3 separate regions of the Homo sapiens genome follow, and all the other regions are linked to region 1. Evidence: promoter capture Hi-C in 16 types of primary human blood cells and fetal thymus (Javierre and others, 2016). All regions are on one chromosome and are shown on one strand. The core of a region is centred on a gene start or on the middle of the fragment in contact, and the rest is flanking DNA. Distances in the headings are between cores, read along the strand shown.

Evidence for each region. The method cuts DNA at HindIII sites, captures the fragments that hold promoters and counts their contacts. A CHiCAGO score of 5 or more calls a contact.
Region 2: a contact is called between a fragment that was not itself captured here and the fragment with the promoter of KPNB1 in region 1, in 1 of 17 cell types (erythroblasts). The highest score is 5.5, in erythroblasts.
Region 3: a fragment that was not itself captured here is called in contact with the fragment with the promoter of KPNB1 in region 1 in 2 of 17 cell types (erythroblasts and megakaryocytes); the score reaches 7.4 in erythroblasts.

What each region holds. Positions count from the first base shown.
Region 1 is chr17:47,647,206-47,651,846 of GRCh38, reverse strand. KPNB1 (karyopherin subunit beta 1) reads right to left here and starts at 1,928. Exons shown (of 22, transcript NM_002265.6): 1 at 1,563-1,928; 2 at 1,403-1,461. The coding sequence starts at 1,602. KPNB1-DT (KPNB1 divergent transcript) reads left to right here and starts at 2,419. Exons shown (of 4, transcript NR_171700.1): 1 at 2,419-2,451. RefSeq lists silencers at 908-957, 1,258-1,397, 1,508-1,577, 2,008-2,187, 2,198-2,247 and 1 more and an enhancer at 2,928-3,773. The HindIII fragment of the contact is 6,441 bases long and covers 214-4,641 here.
Region 2 is chr17:47,080,581-47,085,221 of GRCh38, reverse strand. The region is part of intron 1 of LOC101927060 (a long non-coding RNA gene); the gene reads left to right. Among named protein-coding and RNA genes, the nearest start is that of RPRML, 100 kb to the right of the region's middle. The HindIII fragment of the contact is 5,157 bases long and covers 1-4,641 here.
Region 3 is chr17:47,131,593-47,136,233 of GRCh38, reverse strand. It overlaps CDC27 (cell division cycle 27), which reads left to right. Exons shown (of 19, transcript NM_001256.6): 15 at 3,860-3,977. It also overlaps the pseudogene LOC112268192. Among named protein-coding and RNA genes, the nearest start is that of CDC27, 55 kb to the left of the region's middle. RefSeq lists an enhancer at 1-304. The HindIII fragment of the contact is 4,591 bases long and covers 558-4,641 here.

The DNA.
Region 1 (4,641 bases), core at 679-3,178:
AAACTACTCCCTTTGTTTAAAAATTTAGCACACACACACCTCTCCACCAAAAACCGTGCCCAAACAGCAAAGTTAGCAGGAAAAGTCAAAAGCAGACACATTTTTCTTACTGCTAACAAGCTCTGCAATCACAGCAGAAGATAATTCTTAAAAGTTTTATTAATTATGTACCACTAAAGAATGTTAAGAATGTTAGGAATAAGATAAAAAGCTTTTTGCAAAATTTGCAAAAGCAGAAACAGGAATAATACCCTAAATGGAATTATCAGCCTATACTAGTGGAAAAATCTCTTCTAGGAAAGGATAAACAGGTTAGTTGTAAAAATTGGCACATATGAAAAACAACAAAAAAATCATTCAAAGGCAGTCTGTATAAAATAAGCCTTGTCACTTTGTTGATGTTGACATTTTGCCTATATAACACAAAGGAACACATATGGTTAGTGTTACTCAGACTTAATTCCTATTACCTTTCTCAAAGATGTCAAGCATCATCCAATCCTTCCCTCTGACCCCATCCCCCAACAGGAGATGGACACCAAAGAGAAACTTAACTGGCATCTAGGCTGTTTCAACCAATCCATCCCACATTTTTATACAAAGGACCAGTCTCTAGCGGACTTAGCTTCATTTTCTCCGGACCCCTTAAATTTTAAAATATGAAAAACGAGGAACTTTCCCCTGTGATTTCATCAGCAAACAGGCCCCATCTCAAAGATGAGCCTCAGTCTGTTTTCTGGGTGCAGATCCCTAGTGATTAGGTCTCTATTCATCCAGGTCAGAAGAAAAAAAAAAAAGAAAGAAAGAAAAAGAAAAAACCCCAAGAGAGGAATAACCGAGCAAAGAGGGAAAAATATCAGTGGAAATGGGTTAAGAGGCAGTCGGGTGCCAGGCCTGGCCATGAGTACAGACCAAGGTAGCTAGGAAAGGGCAGAGCTCTAGGAAATAGGTGGGGAGAGCCACAGGGGCCACGGGATAGGAAGGAGAAGCCGGCCGGGGTCAGACAGGGCGGGCGGCCGGGCCCGGAGCTTCCACATGGCCCCTAGGCCCGACTCCCCCGCCCCCACCCCTGCTGAACACGCAGCGCCGCGCAACCTAACTTCCCTTCCCTCCCTCTTTCTCCCTCCCGCTGCACCGCCGCCCTCAGGCCGCGCAACGATTGGGCGGCAGGCAGCTCGGCGCGCCAAGCCATTGGCCAGTCGCGAGGCCCGGGGCGGGACACACCCACCGGCTTCCCGATGGCGGGGTTAGGTTGGACCGGGTTGGGGGGGGAGGGGGAGGGGGGAGGGGGACGGGATGGGGCGGGGTAGGTTCCCGAGGCCTGGGCCTCCGGGAGGGCGGGAAGGCCCCGCACGCAGGGGATGGGGACGCGGCGGGATGGGCGCGGCGGGGTAGCACGCACCAGGTTCTCCACGGCCGCACGCTCCAGGAACTTCTGCGCCGCTTCCAGCTCCAGCCGATCTAGGGGGAGGAAAGTGGGAGACGGAGCGGGGTCAGAGGGGCCGGGCCTCCCCTCCCCCACCCCAATCACCTCAGCCCTACCCCCGGCTCCTGCGTCCTACCGGGAGACACGGTCTTCTCGAGAATGGTGATCAGCTCCATGGCGGAGGTGGCGGCGGCGGCGACTCCTCCTAAGACGACGGCCCGGCCTTTCGGGCGGCGGCTCGAACTGGGGATGGGGGTTGGGGGTCGGGTGGGAAGGGAGGGTGGGGTGGGGGGCGGGGGTCACCACAAACCCATTCACCGGCTCTGTCTGGGTAGTCGGTCCGGCTCCCCTTCCTCTCCTCTTCCCTTACTTCCTCCCTCCAAATGGGCTGCTGGCGGCGGGGGAGGGACCCTGGGGGCAGCTCAGAGCGCGCTGGTGCTCGGGAGGCGGAGGGAGAAAGAAGGAAGGGAGGCTGTGAGTGAGAGGCGGCGCGCAGGGAGGGAGCGAGGGAGGGAGGAAGGCGGAGGGATATTCGGACCGGACCTCTCCGCGGAGGCGCCGCGCTCCACGACGATTGGCCGTTGTCCTGGCCACGCGGAATCCCTAACTGGCCAGGCGCTCAGCGTCGAAGGGCCGTCTCGCGCCCATTCGCCTGCTGGTTTCAAGGCCCGGGTTGGCTGGGCGGGCAGCGGAATGGAGCGCGCGGATTGGCCGAGGGGAGGGAGATTGGGATGGGGTAGGAGAGAGCCCGCCGTTGATTGGGTGGGCTTGGTAAAGGCCTTGAGCTCAGACCGGCTGAGCGCTGGGAGGAGGGTGGACCGGAGGCACGACTCGGATCCTGCGCGATTGGCTGGGATAGTAGGCGTTGATAGGATAGGGTGCCCGGGAGAACTAAGGAGAGGAGTTCGGGGTCGGGGCGCGGGAAGGCGGGAGGTGCCCGGCAACCCTAGGAGCCCGGCGCGGGGCACGATGGGACGCCCCCGGGAAGAGGCGGAGCTGGGTTCGAGCGCTGGGGCTGCGGTTGGGTAAGCGCCGTCGCTCCGAGGGGCGTGTTGCGCGAGGTTTTCGCGGGCCTGAGCGGGGGAGGGGGGACTGTTGAAGTCCTGCGCCGCGCCCACAGGAAGCTGCTTTAATGGCTAGGTCGGCTTGGTACCCTGCTTTCGGCTGGGAGGGATCCGTAAGGCCATGTGGCTCCACTGCCAATGTGTAGATGTGGAAACTGAAGCCCAGAGAGGGTATGGAACTTGTCCAAGGTCACACAGCTGGTTAATGGCTTGGTAAGGAATGGGTTCAGGAGCCCAGAGAGGGTCTGGAACTTGTCCAAGGTCACACAGCTGGTTAGTGGCTTGATAAGCTCAAGCTCTCCTGACGGCCCTTGTCCCTACAAGCAGCTTCCTCTCCAAGGAGTCCCCTAAGCCTGCTTATATGGGGCTTGAGACCTGTGCTGTGATAAATCTGACTTGCTTAGGGGTGAGCTAAGGGATTCCTCCTCTTAGACCCCCCATCCATAGCTACCAGGTACTTGACAGGATGGAAATGTTTCACCCTCCAAAAGTACCCTGTAAAGGCCCAACCTCGAACCAGAAAGAATGTGTGTACAGGAATAAAGGATTGTGGTTCTTAACCTGTTTCAGTTCTCAACCCCGGAAGAAACTCATGAATGCCTTTTCTTAGCAAAATGCATATAAAGAAAACGTGGGCCGGGCGCTGTGGCTCGCGCCTGTAATCCCAGCACTTTGGGAGGCCGAGGGGGGCGGATGACGAGTCAAGAGATCGAGACCATCCTGGCCAACATGGTGAAACCCCGTCTCTACTAAAATATAAAAAATTAGCCCGGTGTGGTGGCGCGTACCTGAAGTCCAAGCTATTCCTGAGGCTGAGGCAGGAGAATCGCTTGAACCCTGGACGCAGAGGTTGCAGTGAGCCGATATCGCGCCACTGCAGTCCAGCCTGGCGACAGAGCGAGACTCCATCTCAAAGAAAAGAAAAAAAATGTGCATACAGTATGTGGCTCAGGCCTGCAATCCCAGGACTTTGGGAGGATCGCTTGAGCCCAGGGGTTCAAGACTAACCTGGACAACTTAGCGAGATCCTGTCTCTTTTAAAAAAAATGAAGATTTTTAAAATGATAAAGGAAAAGTGTAATAATAGGGCCGGGCGCGGTGGCTCATGCCTGTAATCCCAGCACTTTGGGAGGCCGAGGCGGGCGGATCACTTGAGGTCAGGAGTTCAAGACCAGTCTGGCCAACATGGTGAAACCCTGTCTCTACTAAAAATACAAAAAAAAAAAAAAAACCTAGCCGAGCGTGGTGGCGCACGCCTATAATCTCAGCTCCTCAGGAGGCTGAGACAGAATCTCTTGAACCCGGGAGGCAGAGGTTGCAGTGAGCCAAGACTTCACCACTGCACTTCAGCCTGGGCGACAGTTAAGACTCTCAAAAAAAGAAAAAATAAATGGTAACAAAGAATTTCTTGAATTGTTTCATTTTCACAGTAATGATGTAGGGGTAATTGGATGTAGCTGGTTCATAGAGCTTTTTACCATATGACTTGAGCTTGTGAGGTAATTGCCCTGCAGTAGCCACACTGGGAAAACCTAGGAGGAAGTCTGACTTTGTTGAAAGGTTTCACAAAGAATTAGGAAAGATTGGCCAACTCTTTGTTAAAAGAGGAAGAAATGGTCTTTCTCTGCTAGAGATATCTTTGCAGTTTTGAAGCTAGAAATGTAGGGACACCATTCCTCACACCATACTGTGACTAGTGGATTTCCCATGGCTTAGCAGCTAACCCCAGCCTTTTGCTTCATCTATTAACTGTGGAAGAACTGCCCTGTGTGTGTAACTTTGTTATAAATCAGTGAAGATTGGGCCAGGGCGTGGTGGGTCACGCCTTTAATCCCAGCACTTTGGGAGGCTGAGGTGGGCAGATCAACTGAGGTCCGGAGTTAGAGACCAGCTTGGCCAACACAGTGAAACCCTGTCTCTACTGAAATACAAAATTAGCCGGGCGTGGTGGTGGGCACCTGCAATCAATCCCAGCTACTCAGTAGGCTGAGGCAGGAGAATTGCCTGAACCCGTGAGGCAGAGGTGGTAGTGAGCTAAGATTGCACCACCGCACTCCAGCCTGGGTGACAGAGCAAGACTCCATCTCAAAAAAAACCCACTGTACTCCAGCCTGGATGACAGCAAGACTCCATCTCAAAACAAAACAAAAC
Region 2 (4,641 bases), core at 1,284-3,783, 570 kb after region 1:
GTATGAAAGCTAACTTACTCCAAACTTGTTAACTGTACACCTCTCACGTTTAATAACAGCTTAGTTTTCTGCTCATATTGCTGGCATTTTGAACACAAGATACTTTTTGGACACTTGAGTTGAGGTTTTCCATTTTTCATTGGAGATGATCAGAGTTTGAGCCAGCATTATGGAAGAACAATACTGTAACAACTTTCTCCTAGAAATCACTTCCAGTTCTAAACCATCATATCACAGATACACTGGTAAAATGAAACTTGTTCATAAATTGGGAATTGTTAGTATTCCTTAGTGCTGCCTTGCCTTTCTTTAGTTATTTATTAACCATATTATCCAAAACATATTATCAGGAGGCTCACTTTGTATTGTTATTTAGGGAAATACCTGTGTAGGGGATGTAAGACTTTCATTAATATCCAAGAAAAAATGTATTTATCAAAGTTCTTGTGAACTAAAATGTTTTAAGTAATTTTATTTTCCTTTTTTATTTTCAAACAAAGGAAGTGTGTGGTTCCTTAAACATTAGAATACCAGGATGAAAACAGTTTGAGGGGAGTTGATTGAGGAAAAGTAGTATGATTGACTGGTGTTGGGAAGAGCAGCTAAGGAGGCTGTTGGGGTTGTCCAGTGGTGATAGATGGGGACCTGGTGTGGTGGTAGTTTTAGGAATGAAAGGAATCTATAAATCCAAAAGATTTTGCAGGATAGAAAGGTGGTAAGCCTTGAAGAGTAAGGAAAGGTGGGAATAAAATATGAGGGTTAACTAGTTTTGTCTCTTTGTGGGTAGGGGGCATTTTTCTTGTTCAAGAATGATCCCTAGGTTCTTATTGATCTCTTGAGATCATTTCCTGGATTTAGGGTAGAGCTAGACCTGCAGCCAACATTGAAGCAGATAACTGTACTTTAAAAGTATCTTTTTATCTTGAAGAGGTTCCACCAAAATTAGGGAACTGTAAAATGTCTTCTTTCTAAAAGAAGAGACATAATTGATAATACTTTATCACAGTGGTTGATTTGAATGGTTTATGTTTGGTCCATACAAAAGTTAAAATACCATTGCTATCCTTGGTCTTAATTATTATGGTATGATTAAGTTTTAATTTACGTCTTACCCTGTTGCGGTCAGATTTGTTCTTTTTTATTTTTGACATTTTGTATTTTGCCCCTATGGGAGACTGTGTTCAAGTTCACCTATAGTCACAAGTTTTAGTAGTGAGTGTGTGTATCCTGATGGGAAGTGGGGCTGAGGGCTGTGTGACTGCTGCTGCTTTCTGGGAAAACAGTTTTGTGGTGGATTATGAAGTATTTTGATTACGGAATACAGTAGACACCATGTAACCCCAGTCTTAATATTTAAAGAATGTTAATGTTGTCACATTTCTATCTTTTGTTTTTACATGAGAAGTCAAACATTACATTATAAGTAGAGCTAAAATCCAACCTCTCCATCCCCTTTCCAGAGCTAATGAGGAGCTTGATTGTAAATTTGTTGTATATCAGCTCTGTGCATTTTAAAATATATTCATCCCTTATCTGTATTGGTAACAATGCTTATTAATGTTTATCTGTTTATTATTTTTGTTTTCATTCAGCTTTTGCATTCCTCATTTCTGAGATTAGGTCATGTTGATACATACAGTAATTAAATTGCTAGATAGTATTTCGTCAAATTCCTTTACTACTTGTGTGTACTTAATCTTGTTTAGTATTTTTTTATTGTTTCATTCAACAATATGTTCTGAGATTGAGTCATGTTGATACATATAGTTAATTTTATTTTTATTACTATAGAAAGATCTGTTAAATGAATATAGTCTATTTACCAACTTCAACAGAATTATAATATAATTAGTTTTTAGCTGTTAGAGACTCTACTCCAGTGAACCTGTTTCCTCATTCAGAGGAATGTATAGTTTATGTTCTCAGAAACAGAATTTCATGGCTGGGCATAGTGGCTCATGTCTTTGGGAGGCCAAAGGTCAGGAGTTTGAGGGCAACCTGGACACCGCAGCAAGACCCCATCTCTACAAAATTTTTTATTAAAAATTAACCAGGGCCGGGTGCAGTGGCTCATGCCTGCACTTTGGGAGGCTGAGGTGGGCGGATCACCTGAGGTCAGGAGTTTGAGACCAGCCTGACCAACATGGAGAAACCCCGTCTCTACTAAAAATACAAAATTAGCCGCGTGTGGTGGTGCATGCCTGTAATCCCAGCTACTCAGGAGGCTGAGGCAGGAGAATTGCTTGAACCCAGGAGACGGAGGTTGCAAAGAGCCGAGATTGTGCCATTGCACTCCAGCCTGGGCAAGAAGAGCGAAACTCGGTCTCAAAAAAAAAAAAAAAAAAAAATTAGCCAGGTACAGTAGTATGCTCCTGATCCTAGCTGCTTGGGAGACTGAGGTGGGAGGATAGCTTAAGCAAAGGAACGCTAGGTTACAGTGAGCTATGATTGCACCACCATAATCCAGCCTCAATGATAGAGTGTGAGACCCTGCCTCTCAGAAAAGGAGAAACAAACAAAAGAAAAATGAAATAGAATATCATGATGATTGGGTATGCACATTTTACGCCTAGCCAAGTACTTCCAAATTATTGTTCAAAAATGGTGTTGCCAGTTTTAACTGTTACCAGCAATGTATGAATTGTACTTATCCATTTCTCACCACCTGTTGGCTTTATCGGACTACGTGTTTTCCCATCCAGATTTGAAACAGCATCTTAATGTTTTACCTAATATTTACATTTTAACTAAATTTTAATGAGATGACACATTTCTATATATTTATTAATTATTTGCCTTTTATGTGAATTTTCTATTTCTATTAAGATTGTCATTTTTTCTTTTGACCTGTTTCTTTTTTTTTTGAGACAGAGTTTTGCTCTTCTTGCCCAGGCTGGAGTGCAATGGCATGATGTTGGCTCACCACAACCTCCACTTCCTGGGTTCAAGTGATTCTCCTGCCTCAGCCTCCTGTGTAGCTGGGATTACAGGCATGCTCCACCACGACCGACTAATTTTGCATTTTTAGTAGAGACGGGATTTCTCCATGTTGTTCATGTTGGTTTCGAACTCCCAACCTCAGGTGATCTGCCTGCCTCCGCCTCCCAAAGTGCTGGGATTACAGGTTGTGAGCCACTATGCCCGGCCTCTCTTAATCTATTTCTGAGAGTTCTGTTACATATTCTGATGTTTAATCTTCAGTTATATGTATTAGATATCTTCCACCAAAGTACAGTTTGCCTTTTAATTTTATTAGATTTTCTATTGCATGTTGAAAAGTAGGTGATATTTTTGTGTCTTATCTAAGAAATACTTCCTGCTCTAAGTCCCGAAGATGTTCTTTTAAGTTTGGCTGTTCATGTTTAGCAATTTGAAGTGCCAAAATTTTGTAATTATATCATGAAGAAGGGAACTAATTTTACTTTTTCCTTCTAAAGAACTGGCCAGTTTAGTACTATTGAATAGTTTCATTTTTTCCCCACTGATCTGATTAAAAGAAAATTTCCCGGTATCTTTTATGTATCTAGTTCTACGTTTTGAGGCTCTCTACAGTTTTGCAGCAAATCTGGCTATCTGGTAATGTGTATTTGCATCATGCCTTCTTCCAAATTTCTTGCTGTTGGTCCTTTATGTCATGTGAACTTTTGGATCTGTTTCTCAGCTTTCATTAAAAATACTGTAGGCAATTTGACTGGAATTTCTTTGAATTTATAGATGTTCATGAGAATCACCATCCTTAAAAAATGTATCCTACCATTTGTATAGAGCTTCATGCTTTCAGGCATTACTGTTTTCTCTATAAAGATTTTAAATATATCATTAGTTTTGTCGTTGTTATGAATGATACTTAAAAAATGAATATTTTCTACTTTTTTATTAGTTTTCAAATATTCTTTACTGAACACTTTTGCTAAATTCTTTATTAGTTTTAATAGTTCTTATTGTCAGTTGGATTTCCTGTATAGATTATTCTTAATATATGTTTTATTTTAACATGGACAATATTTTTATCTCTAGAGAAATTAATGCAATTTCAGAGAAACCGTGTGCCGCAGGATCAGGATGGTAGAAGGCAGTTCCACTTAATTTGGGAAATACCTATTTGAAAGTTTATATCCATGTGCATCCTGAGGAGTGGGGGGTATCTGTCTCTGTCTGTTTTGGGTTTTTCTTGACACTAGAGTTAGTCTCTGCAAGGGCCTTTAGAAGTTAAATTCCACCCTCCACCCCCAAGTCTGGTATAGATATTACTACTACTCTTGGACTTCACTCAATTTATTTCTTTTTAGGAGACACAGGTCAGAATGGAGATGGGCTGCAGACCGGGCAGCTATTGTCAGCTGCTGGAACTGGCTTCAGGCTCATGTTTCTGACTTGGAATATCAAATTCGTCAGCAAACAGACATTTACAAACAGATATGTGCTAATAAGGGATAGGTGTCTGGTGTTTTTTAGTACAGCTGAAAACTATCATTATTGCTTTTCTCCCATCCCCTCCCACCTCTTTGGTAATCCCCTCCCCATAACCCCCTTTTTAACTATTTCAAGACAAGTGGTTTAATGACCTGATATAGTGGTTTAATTTGTTTAAGAACCTGATGGGATCACACGTGGTGGCTCACTCTGGTAATCCCAGCACTT
Region 3 (4,641 bases), core at 1,604-4,103, 520 kb after region 1:
CAACTTGCCAATGCTGCTGTCTCTTCCGATAGCTATGTTCTCTGTAATATTTTAAGAACTCAGTTTTTTTTTTGTTTGTTTGTTTGTTTTTTGAGGCAGAGTCTCGCTCTGTCACCCAGGTTGGAGTGCAGTGGCGCCATCTTGGCTCACTGTATGCTCCGCCTCCCAGGTTCACGCCATTCTCCTGCCTCAGCCTCCCGAGTAGCTGGGACTACAGGTGCCTGCCACCATGCCCGGCTAATTTTTTTTGTATTTTTAGTAGAGACGGGATTTCACCATGTTAGCCAGGATGGTCTCAATCTCCTGACCTCATGATCCACCCACTTTGGCCTCCCAGTGCTGGGATTACAGGCATGAGCCACCATACCCGGCCAGGAACTCAGTTCTTAATAAGACTTGTGTTGTTTTTGATTTTTTCCCAAGTCTGGTTGATCCTTGTGTTGTTTTTTTTTTAAATGTGTATTGTCTGTTCAGCTATTTTGCAGGAGTTGCATTCTTAAAAAACTTAACCATATCAAAAATTGTGTTTAAAGGAGGATTATTCAGATTGGCAAGCTTTTACTAGGAGGAGTTTAAATGCTGACGTATTTAGGTAACTAAATACTGAGCAACTTTATTCTAAGTACAAAATAGATAGCCTTTCTTTTGTTTTCACTTTCACTATCATTAGCATAGTGTTTAATACCTTTTCTTCATCTATAACACAAGTATAATGATATATAAAGCCACTCAAATAAAGCAGATATGTTGTGCTTTTTTCTTATTCATTTGATGCTTATTCCCCATCATCATCATCATCATCATCATCATCATCATCATCATCATCTAGTTATGGCCATGAGAAGTCTCCGTAATATAAACCATCCACACTATATTCATTTGACATTTTGAAAATTCAGGAGAAATACCTGCATATTAACCTAATACACTATTACATAGCCTTTAGAAATTGTAATTTTGAGGTCTATAAGTATAGGAGCATGCTTTTGATAACAGTAAGTGGGGGACAAGGAAGCCAAACATGACACTATGTATGCTATAATTATAATAATATAAAACAGAAATGTGGGAATAGCATTGTTAGGAGTTCAGCCTTTAGAATCATTAAGGAAGAACCTGGTTAGAATCTTTATTAGCTGTATAACTTTAAGCAAGTTATTTAACTTCTCTAAGTTTCAGTTTCCTTATTCGAAATAAGGATGATAATGGTACCTATGATTCCTCTAGGGATTAAATGAGATAATTTAGCAATGGTCTTGGCACACATGTAATAACTACTCAGTAAAAATTAGCTGTTAAATCTAGAATATGACAGGTATGGTGGCTCATACCTATAAGCCCAGCACTTTAGGAAGCTGAAGCTGGAAGATTACTTGAGACCAGGAGTTTGAGACCAGCCTGGTCAACATAGCAAGACCCCTTCCCTAACAAAAAAAAAAAAAAAAAAAGAAAACAATTAAGGCCGGGCACGGTGGCTCACGCCTGTAATCCCAGCACTTTGGGAGGCTGAGATGGGCGAATCATGAGGTCAAGAGATCAAGACCATCCTGGCCAACATGGTGAAACCCCGCCTCTACTAAAAATACAAAAATTAGCTGGGTGTGGTGATGCGTGCCTGTAGTCCCAGCTGCTTGGGAGACTGAGGCAGGAAAACCACTTGAACCTGGGAGGTGGAGGTTGTGCCACTGCACTCCAGCATGGCAACAGAGTGAGACTCCATCTCAAAAACAAAACAAAACAAAACAAAACAAAAAAAAAACAATTAGGCATGGTGGTGTATGCCTGTAGTCCTAACTACTCAGGAGGCTGAGGTGGGAGGATTGCGTGAGCCTAAGAGTTCAAGGTTACCTGCAGTGAGCTATGATCACGCCATTGCACTCCAGCCCGGGCGACAGAGCAAGACGTTGAATTAAAAAAAAAAAAAAAATCTATATGGGTTTAGGGGTGTGGTTTCTTTTTTCCTTATTATCATAGTTTGATTTGATTTGATTTGATTGTTTTTGCTTGTAAAAGTGACTCTTTAAAATGTTTTAATGGTCTGGGCATGGTGGCTCATGCCTGTAATCCTAGCGTTTGGGAGGCCAAGGTGGGAGGATTGTTTGAGGCTAAGAGTTTGAAACCAGCTTGGTCAACATAGTGAGACCTCGTCTCCACAAAAAATTAAAAATATGTTAATATAAGAAGGCTGGGGGTGGTAGCTCACACCTGCAATCCCGGCACTTTGGTAGGCTGGGACAAGCAGATCACTTAAGGCCAGGAGTTCAAGACCAGCCTGGCCAACATGGGGAAACCTCGTCTCTACTAAAAATACAAGAAAATTAGCTGGGCGTGGTGACACATGCCTGTAATCCCAGCTACTTGGGAGGCTGAGGCACGAAAATCGCTTGAACCCAGGAGGCAGAGGTTGCAGTGAGCTGAGATTGCACCACTGCACTCCAACCTGGGTGACAAAAAGCAAGACTGTCTCAAAAAAGAAAAAAAATATATGTAGGCCAGGTGTGGTGGCTCATGCCTGTAATCCCACCACTTTGGGAGGCCGAGGCCGAGGCGGGCGGATCACCTGAGTCGGGAGTTCGAGACCAGCCTGACCAACATGGAGAAACCCTGTCTTTACTAAAAATACAAAATTAGCTGGGTGTGGTGGCGCATGCCTGTAATCCCAGCTACTCGGAAGGCTGAGGCAGGAGAAACGCTTGAACCTGGGAGGCGGAGGTTGTGGTGAGCTGTGATCATGCCATTGCACTACAGCCTGGGCAACAAGAGCGAAACTCCGTCTCAAAAAAAAAACAAAAAAACAGCTTGGCACCATGACTCACACCTGTAGTCCCAGCACTTTGGGAGGCCAAGGCGGGCGGATCACCTGAGGTCAGGAGTTCAAGACCAGCCTGACCAACATGGAGAAACCCCGTCTCTGCTAAAAATACAAAATTAGCCGGGCGTGATGGTGCATGCCTGTAATCCCCAGCTACTCGGGAGGCTGAGGCAGGAGAATTGCTTGAACCTGTGGGTGGAGGTTGTGGTGAGCCGAGATTGCACCATTGCACTCCAGCCTGGGCAACAAGAGCAAAACTCTGTCTCAAAAAAATACATATATATTATATATATATATATATATATATATATATATGTATATTTGTGTGTGTGTGTTTGTGTGTGTGTGTGTGTGTGTGTATATGTATGTGTGTGTGTGTGTGTGTGTGTGTGTATATATATATATATATATATATATATATATATATATATATGCGCCTGGGCAACATGGCAAAACCCCATCTCTACAAAAAATACAAAAATTAGCCATGCCTGGTGGCGTGCACCTGTAGTTGCAGCTACTCAGGATGCTGAGGTGGGAGGATTGATCACTTGAGCCTGGGAGGTCAAGGCTGCAGTGAGCCGTGATTGAGCCACTGCACTCCAGCCTAGGCAACAGAGTGAGGTGCTATCTTTAAAATATAATAATAATAATAATAATAATAATAATAATAATAATAAACTGCTTTAATGGCTAGGCATTGTGGTTCATGCCTGTAGTCTCAGCTACTCTGGAGGCTGAGGCTGGAGGATTCTTTGAACCCGGAAGTTCAAGGATGCAGTGAGCTATGATTGGCCCACTGCACTCCAGCCTGGGTGACAGAGTGAGACCCTAATTCAAAAAAAAATTTTTTTATTTAAAAATAAGTAAATAAAATGCTTTAATGATTTTTATCATAACTGGTATTTTTTGCCTCTCCTCTAAGACCACCAGTATTCCACTGGATTATTAAAATGCCAGATTCTATACTTGTTCTTTTACTAATTGAACTAAATTAGCAACCTAAACTTTATATTTTTAAAATTATACTTTGTTTTATACTTTCAGGTATGGTTTAGGAATGATTTATTACAAGCAAGAAAAATTCAGCCTTGCAGAAATGCATTTCCAAAAAGCGCTTGATATCAACCCTCAAAGTTCAGTTTTACTTTGCCACATTGGAGTAGTAAGTAGCTTTCTAAACATTAATACTCTATTAATCTCCCTTTTGAAATATGTTTGTTATTGATTTAATTGCTGTGATAAAAATTGGTCCTTTTTTGTGTTGAAACAGTATTCTGGAGCCTATTACACCCAAAAATACTACCCATTTGGCTTAGCATAAAAAATCACAGAATTGCCCTTATCCCTTGCACAAGTCACTTCATTGCTCTGAGCTTTTATTTTATGAATGTCATGTACTACTTGCTTACCTCATAGGGTTGTTCTGTGACTCAAGTAAGATATCTCCTGGCCAGTTGCAGTGGCTCATGCCTGTAATGCCAGCGCTTTAGGAGGCCGAGGCAGGTGAATCACTTAAGGTCAGGAGTTGGAGACCAGCCTGGGCAACATAGCGAGACCCCATCTCTACAAAAAAAATTTAAAAATTAGCCTGGCATGGTGGTGCACACCTGTGGTCCTGGCTACTTGGGAGGCTGAAGCACAAGGATCACTTGAGCCCAGGAGTGCAAGGCTGCTGTGAGCTAAGAAGGTGATACTGCACTCCAGCCTGGGCAACAGAATGAGACTCCATCTCTTAAAAGAAAATAAATAAATTTTACTTTAACAGGAGAAAAGATATGTACATTATGTTTGTTTGCTTTTTAAAATCGCATTTATTAGCTTCTGTG